Regions from separate parts of the Homo sapiens genome. Here regions 2 and 3 are each linked to region 1. The links are contacts of gene promoters, found by promoter capture Hi-C in human tissues and cell types (Jung and others, 2019). All regions are on one chromosome and are shown on one strand. Each heading gives the region's core, a stretch centred on a gene start or on the middle of the fragment in contact. The rest is flanking DNA. Distances are from core to core; before and after follow the strand shown. Region 1 holds the start of PRRT4 (proline rich transmembrane protein 4). Region 2 overlaps SND1 (staphylococcal nuclease and tudor domain containing 1). Region 3 overlaps SND1 (staphylococcal nuclease and tudor domain containing 1).

Evidence for each region. The method cuts DNA at HindIII sites, captures the fragments that hold promoters and counts their contacts. A contact is called where the count stands out against the background at its distance.
Region 2: a contact is called between a fragment that was not itself captured here and the fragment with the promoter of PRRT4 in region 1, in 1 of the 25 tissues and cell types used here (spleen).
Region 3: a contact is called between a fragment that was not itself captured here and the fragment with the promoter of PRRT4 in region 1, in 1 of the 25 tissues and cell types used here (spleen).

Annotation. Positions count from the first base shown.
Region 1 is chr7:128,360,381-128,363,195 of GRCh38, reverse strand. It overlaps PRRT4 (proline rich transmembrane protein 4), which reads left to right and starts at 1,506. Exons shown (of 6, transcript NM_001174164.2): 1 at 1,506-1,635; 2 at 1,774-1,890. RefSeq lists enhancers at 1,571-2,439, 2,440-2,815. The HindIII fragment of the contact is 21,921 bases long and covers 1-2,815 here.
Region 2 is chr7:128,092,391-128,095,090 of GRCh38, reverse strand. SND1 (staphylococcal nuclease and tudor domain containing 1) reads right to left here. Exons shown (of 24, transcript NM_014390.4): 24 at 2,498-2,700. Among named protein-coding and RNA genes, the nearest start is that of MIR593, 12 kb to the right of the region's middle. The HindIII fragment of the contact is 7,467 bases long and covers 1-2,700 here.
Region 3 is chr7:127,884,348-127,887,047 of GRCh38, reverse strand. The region is part of intron 12 of SND1 (staphylococcal nuclease and tudor domain containing 1); the gene reads right to left. Among named protein-coding and RNA genes, the nearest start is that of SND1-IT1, 110 kb to the left of the region's middle. The HindIII fragment of the contact is 6,564 bases long and covers 1-2,700 here.

The DNA of each region.
Region 1 (2,815 bases), core at 257-2,756:
ATAATTTTTCTGTCTCTGTGGCTCGTGGTGACGAATAAGTAAGGAGACTCTTATAAAGCATCCACCATCATTCTTGGCACACAGTTGGATGTTTAGATTTTGAGGGAAAGTTTTAAATGGTGCAGGGAGACAGAAGTGTTTCATGTTCTGATACTTTTAAATTACTATCATTGTTTGAAGAAAACATGAAGGGATTTAGAGACTCAAAACCACATGAATGAGTCAGTAGTACTTCAGTTAGTCACTACTACAACTTAACAGGTTCCATGAAGTATACATAGTGACTGCTCGGTTTTCTTGGTCATCTTCAACCTGTGTCAGCTTTTGCCTGAGCTCTCTTACTTTCTGTGAAGGGGCACGCTCTTTTTTCTTTGTTTTTCCTTTTGAGACAGGGTCTTGCTCTGTTGCCCAGGCTGGAGTGTAGCGGTATGATCACAGCTCACGGCAACCTCCACCTCCCAGGCTCAAGCAATCCTCCAGTCTCAGCCTCCCAAATAGCTGGGACTACAGGTGTCTGCCACCATACCCCATCACGCCCAGATAATTTCTTTCTTTCTTCTTTTTTTCTTGCTTGCTTGCTTGCTTGCTTGCTGTTTGTTTGTTTTTATTTTATCTTTTGCTATGTTGCCCAGGCTGTTCTTGAACCCCGGGGCTCAAGCGATCAGCCTGCCTCAGCCTCCCAAAGTGTTAGAATTACAGGCGTGAACCACTGAACCCAGCCTTTGATTTTACTGTTCTCCTCACACCTCTTACTAGAAACCAGTTGTAATCCACTTCTCACAAGCAGCTTAGCTCACCATTCTTTCTGGCAGACATTTCTGAAACAGTATTTTTGAGAGATCAGTTTTAGCGAAAAGACATGTCACACAGGGATTGGCATTTGGCAGTTCACCGGTGAAGTGTTGGAGGCACTGCTGTGTAGCAGTGCAACTGTTGAAAACCACCAGGTGGTGGAGAGGGCCGGCAGGGAGACGGTTCGAGTTTCTACCAAGCTGTGCAATCTTGGGCAAATTCGGTAATTTTCTGTGTCTTCATTTAATTGTCTGCAAAGTGGCGACATACACAGGGTTGCGGTGAGGACTCATGAGATAAAGGAAGTAGAATTGTCCATTGTACTTCTACTTAGCAAACGGTGGGACTCTTATTGCCCGGGGTGCCATCCTGGGGCAGGCTGCCATGTGTGCGCGTGTGTGCGCGCGCCCTCTGACCTGCGAGTGTGTTTCCTGGCGCGCGTGTGGATGTGTGTGCTGGGCCGCCCTGGGAGTGTGTGATTGCTCTCGCCAGGCTCACAGCGAGGCGCCCGCCGCGGCTGATTGACAGCGCTGGGTGAATGAGCGCGCGTGGAGGCGCCCGGCACCGAGGTGGCCGCGGCTCCGCGCTGCTGTGAGCGCCTGCCTGCCCGCCCGGGTGTGGGGGGACCGCGGGTGGCGGGCTGGGTGGGAGGAGGAGGAGGAGGAGGAGGAGAGAGGGCGCGGGAGCGAGGGCGGGCGGACGGGAGGGCCGTCAGAGCCGGCTGCCGCGGAGCCCCGGCGCGGGCGGCTTCGCCGGGGAGCGAGGCTCGGAGCCAGGAGGCGGCGCCGCTGGGAGGGAGCGCGGAGTGCGGAGTGCGGAGCGCGGGGCCTGGCCGCCCGCCTGGTGAGAGCGCTGCGGGCCGGGGCTGGGCCGGGGGCGGCTCAGGGGCAGCGGGGCGGCGAGGCTGCGGTCTCTGGACTAGGCGAGGGGCCGCCGGGGGCTGGAGGTCCGGATCTTCAGTCGGGGCGCTGGGCACAACAGAGAGAAGCGGTGAGATACCACGAAGCGTTGCCCAGCTGGGCGCCAGGGCCGCCACGACCGCCCCTTTTCGGAGGCTCGGCGAGGAGACCTGCCTGCGGGAGAGACCCCGGGGAGCAGGTCGGCCGGTCCGGGCTGGGGGTGTGTGTGCGTGTGCGCGCGCGTGTGTGCATGTGTGCCTGCGAGGGGTGGTGGGCGTGTACGAGTGTGGGGGGATGGCGGTGTGTGGCATGTCTGTGTGTGTGAATGTGTGTAGGGGGTGTGCATCTCTGTACAGTACATGCCGTGTGTGTGTGTGTGTGTGTGTGTGTGTGTGTGTGTGAGAGAGAGAGAGAGAGAGAGAGAGAGACAGGGGAGGCCGGGGGCTCACAGAGCTTGGGTTTGAACCCATGCAGGGAGGAGAGTGGCTCGGCAGGACGGAGTGTGTGTGTGTGTGTGCGCGCGCGCGTGCAGGGGCAGGGGGGTATGTGACGGGTGAGTGTGTCACGGGCGCTAGATGTGGCTATGTGTGTGATGTAAGGGTGCCGGGTGCATGTGTGTCCCTGGCTCACCCTCCCTTCCCCCACCAGATGTGTGCGCACAGAGGAGAGAGTTCTGGGGAGGGGGTAGGAGTCCGCCGCAGCTGCCTGCAGTTCGCCCAGCTTGCCTGCCTGGCGTTCTCCTCCAGGAAGCCGGAGATCGCCAAGCTGCCCCTCCCCCGAATACTTCAAGGGTCCTAGGGAAGGGAACAGGCCCAGCCCCAGGAAACGGGAGGGGCGGGAGGGAGGGTGCTTCTGCCAGATTGGGAACCTTGCTTCTCTGGCCAGAGCCTGGGCGGCCTTCTGACTGGGCCAGATCACTCAGCTCTGGCTTTACCCCTCCCGAGGCCCTGTGCCCCCTGGGGTCTGAGAGTGAGGGCGCCAGCACTTCTGGCTGGGGCGGGAGGTGGGGGTTGGAATAGGTCAAGACATCGGAAGGGCTTGCTTGTTCACAGTTATATGCCCAGAAGGGTGCTTGGCAAACGGTAAGCCTGCGTAAAGACTTGAGGCTCAGCAGAGGGAAGGAA
Region 2 (2,700 bases), core at 163-2,662, 270 kb after region 1:
GCAGTCACGGGAGCCCTTCTCTCCACTGCCCGCCTTCGCTACTAATCCTGTCCACCAGCAAGAGGAGGGAGATGAGGTCGCTGCGGAGGAGTCTCAGCCACCAATACTTCCCTGGTGGCTTTCCCAAGCCCTGGGCTCTGCTGCATCCACCCTCGGAGACCAGGAGACTCCTCAAGCTGCCCAGAGATAAGCGATGCCTTCCCACCATCTGCTAGCCCCAGCTCTTCTCCTTTCCTCTGGGAAACTTCCCAGCCACCTGGGCCAGGGCCTCTGTCCCTTAAAGTCCCAGGGCACCACCCACTGCTGTGGCTTGTTATAGATAGCATGCATCTGCTGCCTCCTCGAGAGCCCAGAGAGATGACCTTGGCACTCACTGGACCCAACACTGTGCTTGGCACTATCTGGGTCTTAATCCCTGCTTGGAGGAAGCCTAAATGGATGGATAACAGGTGCTCAAGAGACTTCACTATTCAACAGGAAAGGTGGATGGAGAAGCAGAACCCACAATCCTGAGGCCAAGGTGCAATTTTTATAACTCAGGGGGAGTGGGAGGAACCTGTGGAGAGCTTTTTCTGGCTACTGGTGCAAGGGCTGGTGCTGAGTGGACAGCTACAGATGAAAATAGAACATGCCAATGTGTGCGCACTCTGTGAGTGCCTCCTTCAAATCTGCACCCTTGGCGCGTGGCTTGCCTCACCCTGGTCCCAGCCCTATCCAGGTCACACCTCAGGAACTTGGCAGATGTGATACCGAGAGAAACACCAAGTTGGGGTCAAAACCAGACAAGCTGCGGTAGCGCCTTCCTGCCTGGTGACTGATCTGACCTTTGTCTCAACCAGCCTTGGCAGAGAAAAAACTCAGAAGTGGGAAGGCTCAGGCATAATTTCAATTGGAAAACTAAGGAGGGTTTATCCTTGGGTGCAGATGTAACCAAGGCAACTGTGAAGACCGTGAGATGATTTCAGACCCTTTCACAAAAGAGTGGGCTGGCATCTTGCCCTCTGCCGATTGTGTTCACTGTGAATACACATCGCACCCTACCAGAAGCACCTTGGAGGTCAAGAAATAAGTGAGATGGGCATTCTCTTCTTGATGGATAAAAATAAAATCAGAGACCATGGTGAGAGTGTGCTTCTCTGCTGGGGGCAGGACAGCTTCTCCAGGAGTGGGGATGATGAAGAGATTCACACCAAGTCATCATCCACACCCCTCCTGACTTCCTGGGCCCCCTAAGGGGCTGCATGTAGTCAAGGGAAGCACAGTTTACTGGACCATAAAGGGTCTGATTCAGACAGTGTAAGCGCTTGTTCTGGCTAAGCCGGAGGCGCTGCAAGTAGAAACTGTGAGTCCCCACGAGGACCAAGGGAAACTAGTGTTTCTGGAGTTGAACTGACTCAACATTTCTCCCCATGGCCCCTCCCTGGCTCTTCCTACCCTCACCTAACTATAGCGCACCTTGAGTATAAGCAGCACACATGAGAACCCCGTAAGAGCCCTGGCCAGAACAAGTGTGTGTTACGGCAGGACCTCCAGCTGAGGAATGAGATCCAGCCAGCCAGGCCCTACCACCTCCACTGACTGTCCCTGTAGCCCCCAAGATCAAAGGGTCAATTTTATATGGCAGCTTGGAGCATCACCCCAGATCAGAATGTTGGTGGGATGTGGGGCTGTCAGAAAGACGTGCCACCAAGTTTCACCAAAGTATGTGCCAGGGAGGGGCGGGGGCACACAGGTAATGCCGTCAGTGGAGGAATAATGAGGCGCTGGACACCATGGGTGTGGGGAGTGGTGACTCTCACACTTGACTTTCTCTCCCCGGGACTCCTGGCCTCACACCACCATGGCTCCTCCCTCATGGGCTACACGCAGCCTGAGGATTCTGAGCTCCAGGGCCAGTTCTACCTGAGGACTTTTGGGGAGAGCTTATCAAGTCAGACATGAGCAATGGCTAACCTGGAGCAGACAGGCCTCTCACCTGGGACCTGGGTCCCTCTTGGAGAAGCCGGCCCTCCTAGCTCTGTTCTCCGGAGAGGAACCAGGGGGCCTGCGTTCTAACCCACTCTATCCCAGACACAGCAGGAATTAGGGAAATCACCTCATTGCTCTCAGCTGATTCCTTTTGAATCCTTTCTTGGGGATCTGGCAGGGTCTGCCTAAGGCCAGACCCAGCAATTCACAGTGGGTAAATTGTCCTGGGTGCTGCTGGCCAAGCTGCTGTAACTCTCTAAGGTCCTTGAAAACAGCCATGTGCAAGAAGTCAAAAAAGACCTGTAGCCTCCTGCATGATGGCCATGGTGCCAAGTGGTGCCCACTGGGTCCAGGAGTTGCTTGCTCAGACTCTGAAGATCTGCCTTGCTTTCCCCAGCTGGCTCTATTTCTAGGGAGAATGTCCAGGCATTTGGATGACTATCTTGGGGGTCATTCAAGTGTCCAGGTCTCCTCCTGGGTGAAGCTGCCAAGACTCCATGCTCTGGACCACACTGTGATCAATAAGGGCTGCAGACAGCACGTACTATTTTATTGGGCCTCAAAAGCTTTAAATACAGAATGGGCTGGCCAGAGCGAAGATGTGAACACACTGGCATTTGAGAATGGACGTATCAGAAAAATCACATAATCAACAGTTGGACAGAGAGCTGGGACGAGGGCAGTCTGGGATAGAGGCAGGTGCCAGCTGGCGGCCAGCCTGGGTGTTAGGAT
Region 3 (2,700 bases), core at 149-2,648, 480 kb after region 1:
TGGGTAAAAGAATGAGGCCCTATCTCAAAAAAGAAAGAAAAAAGCAAATCAAGATGGGGAACAAAGAAAGTAAACAATATAAAATCTGAGATGACCAGTTTTGGAGCAATACTCCATGGGAGCTACAAAAAATCTCAGGTTAGACTCTAATGCAAAGTAATTCTCAAATGCAACAAATCTTTTTTTTTTTTTTTTTTTGCCAGAATAAGAAAATTGCTCACACTTGGGAATGAGAGATGCCACTCTATGTGGCCTGCATCTACTAGCTAGAGAAGGATGAATGGGAAATGATATGCAGACACTTAATGATACATATTTGAATGGTTCCTCCCCAACCTGGAAAGGGAACTTTGTTATGAACAATCAAACTGCAAAAACAAATTTTCAAAAATTAAGTATAATTAACTATAGCAAATACTGGAAAACAAGAAGCATGATATTATTGAGGGAGAATGGTGGTTATGTCTTTCTTTGTGTCTGTCATAATTACACCAAAGGCCCTACTCAAACCATCTGGTTTGCTGCCCTTTAGGGAGAGGCTATGGTAAGCAATAGGCTACCGTGCCATATGCTATGACTGAGTATTGTTTGAAAATGTGGTTAACTCCTAACACACCAGTGGTTCTTAGAAAGTTATACTGTGGGGATGCTGGGAGCTGAACCAACCAGTATCTGTGCATGTTTACGCAATTTAAGGGCTCTATTCGTCAAAACCCAGGAGAACATGCTTTTTTTTTTTTAAAGAAGAAAAAATAAATGTGTTGGTAGAGCAAGGAGGAAAAGATGCAGTGGCTGATTATCTTCTCATTATATGCCCCTCGGATGTCTGTTTATCTACTGCCAGCACGGTATTAATATCTCCAAACTGCCACGGAATTAGCACTTCTCAAAATCCACTCCCACAAAGAGGCTGCTTTGCTGGCCACCCTGTCTCCTGAGTCACCACATAAGCGTGCTGGCAAATGCTGTCATTATCACAGAGTTGTGTTTGGCAGCATGGAGAAGGCAACAGCCTCAAATCAGCAGATGTAGATGTTGATACATGGTGAGGATTTAAACTAAGGTTGTCACTAAGGGGCCCTAGCAGGGAACAAGAGAGGCTCCACCCATCAAAGAGCTAGTAAGAAGGCTGGGGAGTGGCATGGGGGACAACTCCACTTTTGATAGTTTGAGATGTCCTGGCTGTTTTAAATGCCAAGAAAACAAAGAAATATTTGTTACTGCATTTTGAATTACTGAGCATTGACATTTTACAGTAAATACATGGGGTTTGGAGGAGAAAGTGGGAATGGCAGAGCAGGCAAGGAAAAATTCACACAAACAAGCTTTGATATATAAAGAAAAACAACACAAATGTTTAATGATCCACCCCAGTTAATGCTGCTCAAATCAATACACAGAATTACTGAGTACCTGCCTGGCCGGGAAAAACCAAGGGCACTTTCTCTACTCTTCCTTGTCCCTGCCCTCTTTATCCTATCAGCAAATGTCTACAAACCAGTTAAGACCTGCCATATGGAGTTCCTGAGGCCTTAGATTCCCAAATCACTCCACACCCTGCCCACTAACTTTCTTCTCTCTTTCCTTTAAAGCTCAGCATCTAAGCCATGTTCTCTTAGCTTCTTATCCCCTAATTATAGATTTCTCCTGGAGGAACAGTTGTGATGCTGGTGCTTAGCGGTAACAAGAGTAAAAATACATGAAATGATAACAACCATCACCATTGGGCATTCACTACGTGCAATGCATATGAGAATCACATGTGTTCTCTTCTTGGTGGGTTCCCCATGTGATACACCATCACAATATATGGCAATTATTCATTCATTGTTTATCTTCCTTGGTGAGTGATAAACACTGTGAGGGCAGGGGCCATGCTTTTCTTGCTCTATATCCCAGTTCCAAGCACAGTATTTTGCACAAAGTATAGGCTAGTCTGGCTTGGGGTGTCAGAGCCCCATAGGAAGGTAAGGATGATCACTCATACAAGGTATCAGAGTTCAACCTGGGTGCAAACATCCACATGGAAGGTGGCTCCATAGCCAGGCATTAAAGACTGAGTGTCCACTTGGGAGGGGTGACATCAGTGTTACAAGATTGGTTACACTAAGGAATATCAACCCTACCAGTGAAAGTACTAAGGATAAGCCAGGTTTCTCACTGTCAGAGTAGGTATATACAAATATGGAAAGGAAGAAAACTAGAATGAACCCTGTAGCAGTGGATTGGAATTTTAGGTATTTGTGTGAACTCATGGTATGTTGGTTCAGGTTCTATAAGAGGCACGTGCCAAGAAGGATTAGATGTGCAAGAGATTAATTGGAGAAAACTCATCTCAAGGAAGGTGGGAAGGGAACCCCAGGAGGCCTGGGAAGAGCCAACAGACTGCAGTGCAGGTCAAACCCCTGTGCAGAATGGAGGGAATGAAGGAAGGTTAGATAGGGAACATCTGAGCTACGGGCCTGTTCCAAAGAGTTTCGTCAAAGCTTGATAAGAAGTCAAAATTGTCCGTCAGAGGAACCCTATGTCCCTCAGCAATAGGCCTGCCTTAGTATCTCTGTTGCGCTCCGCTATTGGCTGGGAGCAGCTGGTGGGAAGCATAGCCTTGGCTGAAGTAGCAGTGATTGATTTCAAAGCACAGCAGCTGGGCTGTCAGTCTATTATGTTTCCTGCAGTTGGAGATCCAGGAGGCACATTTTC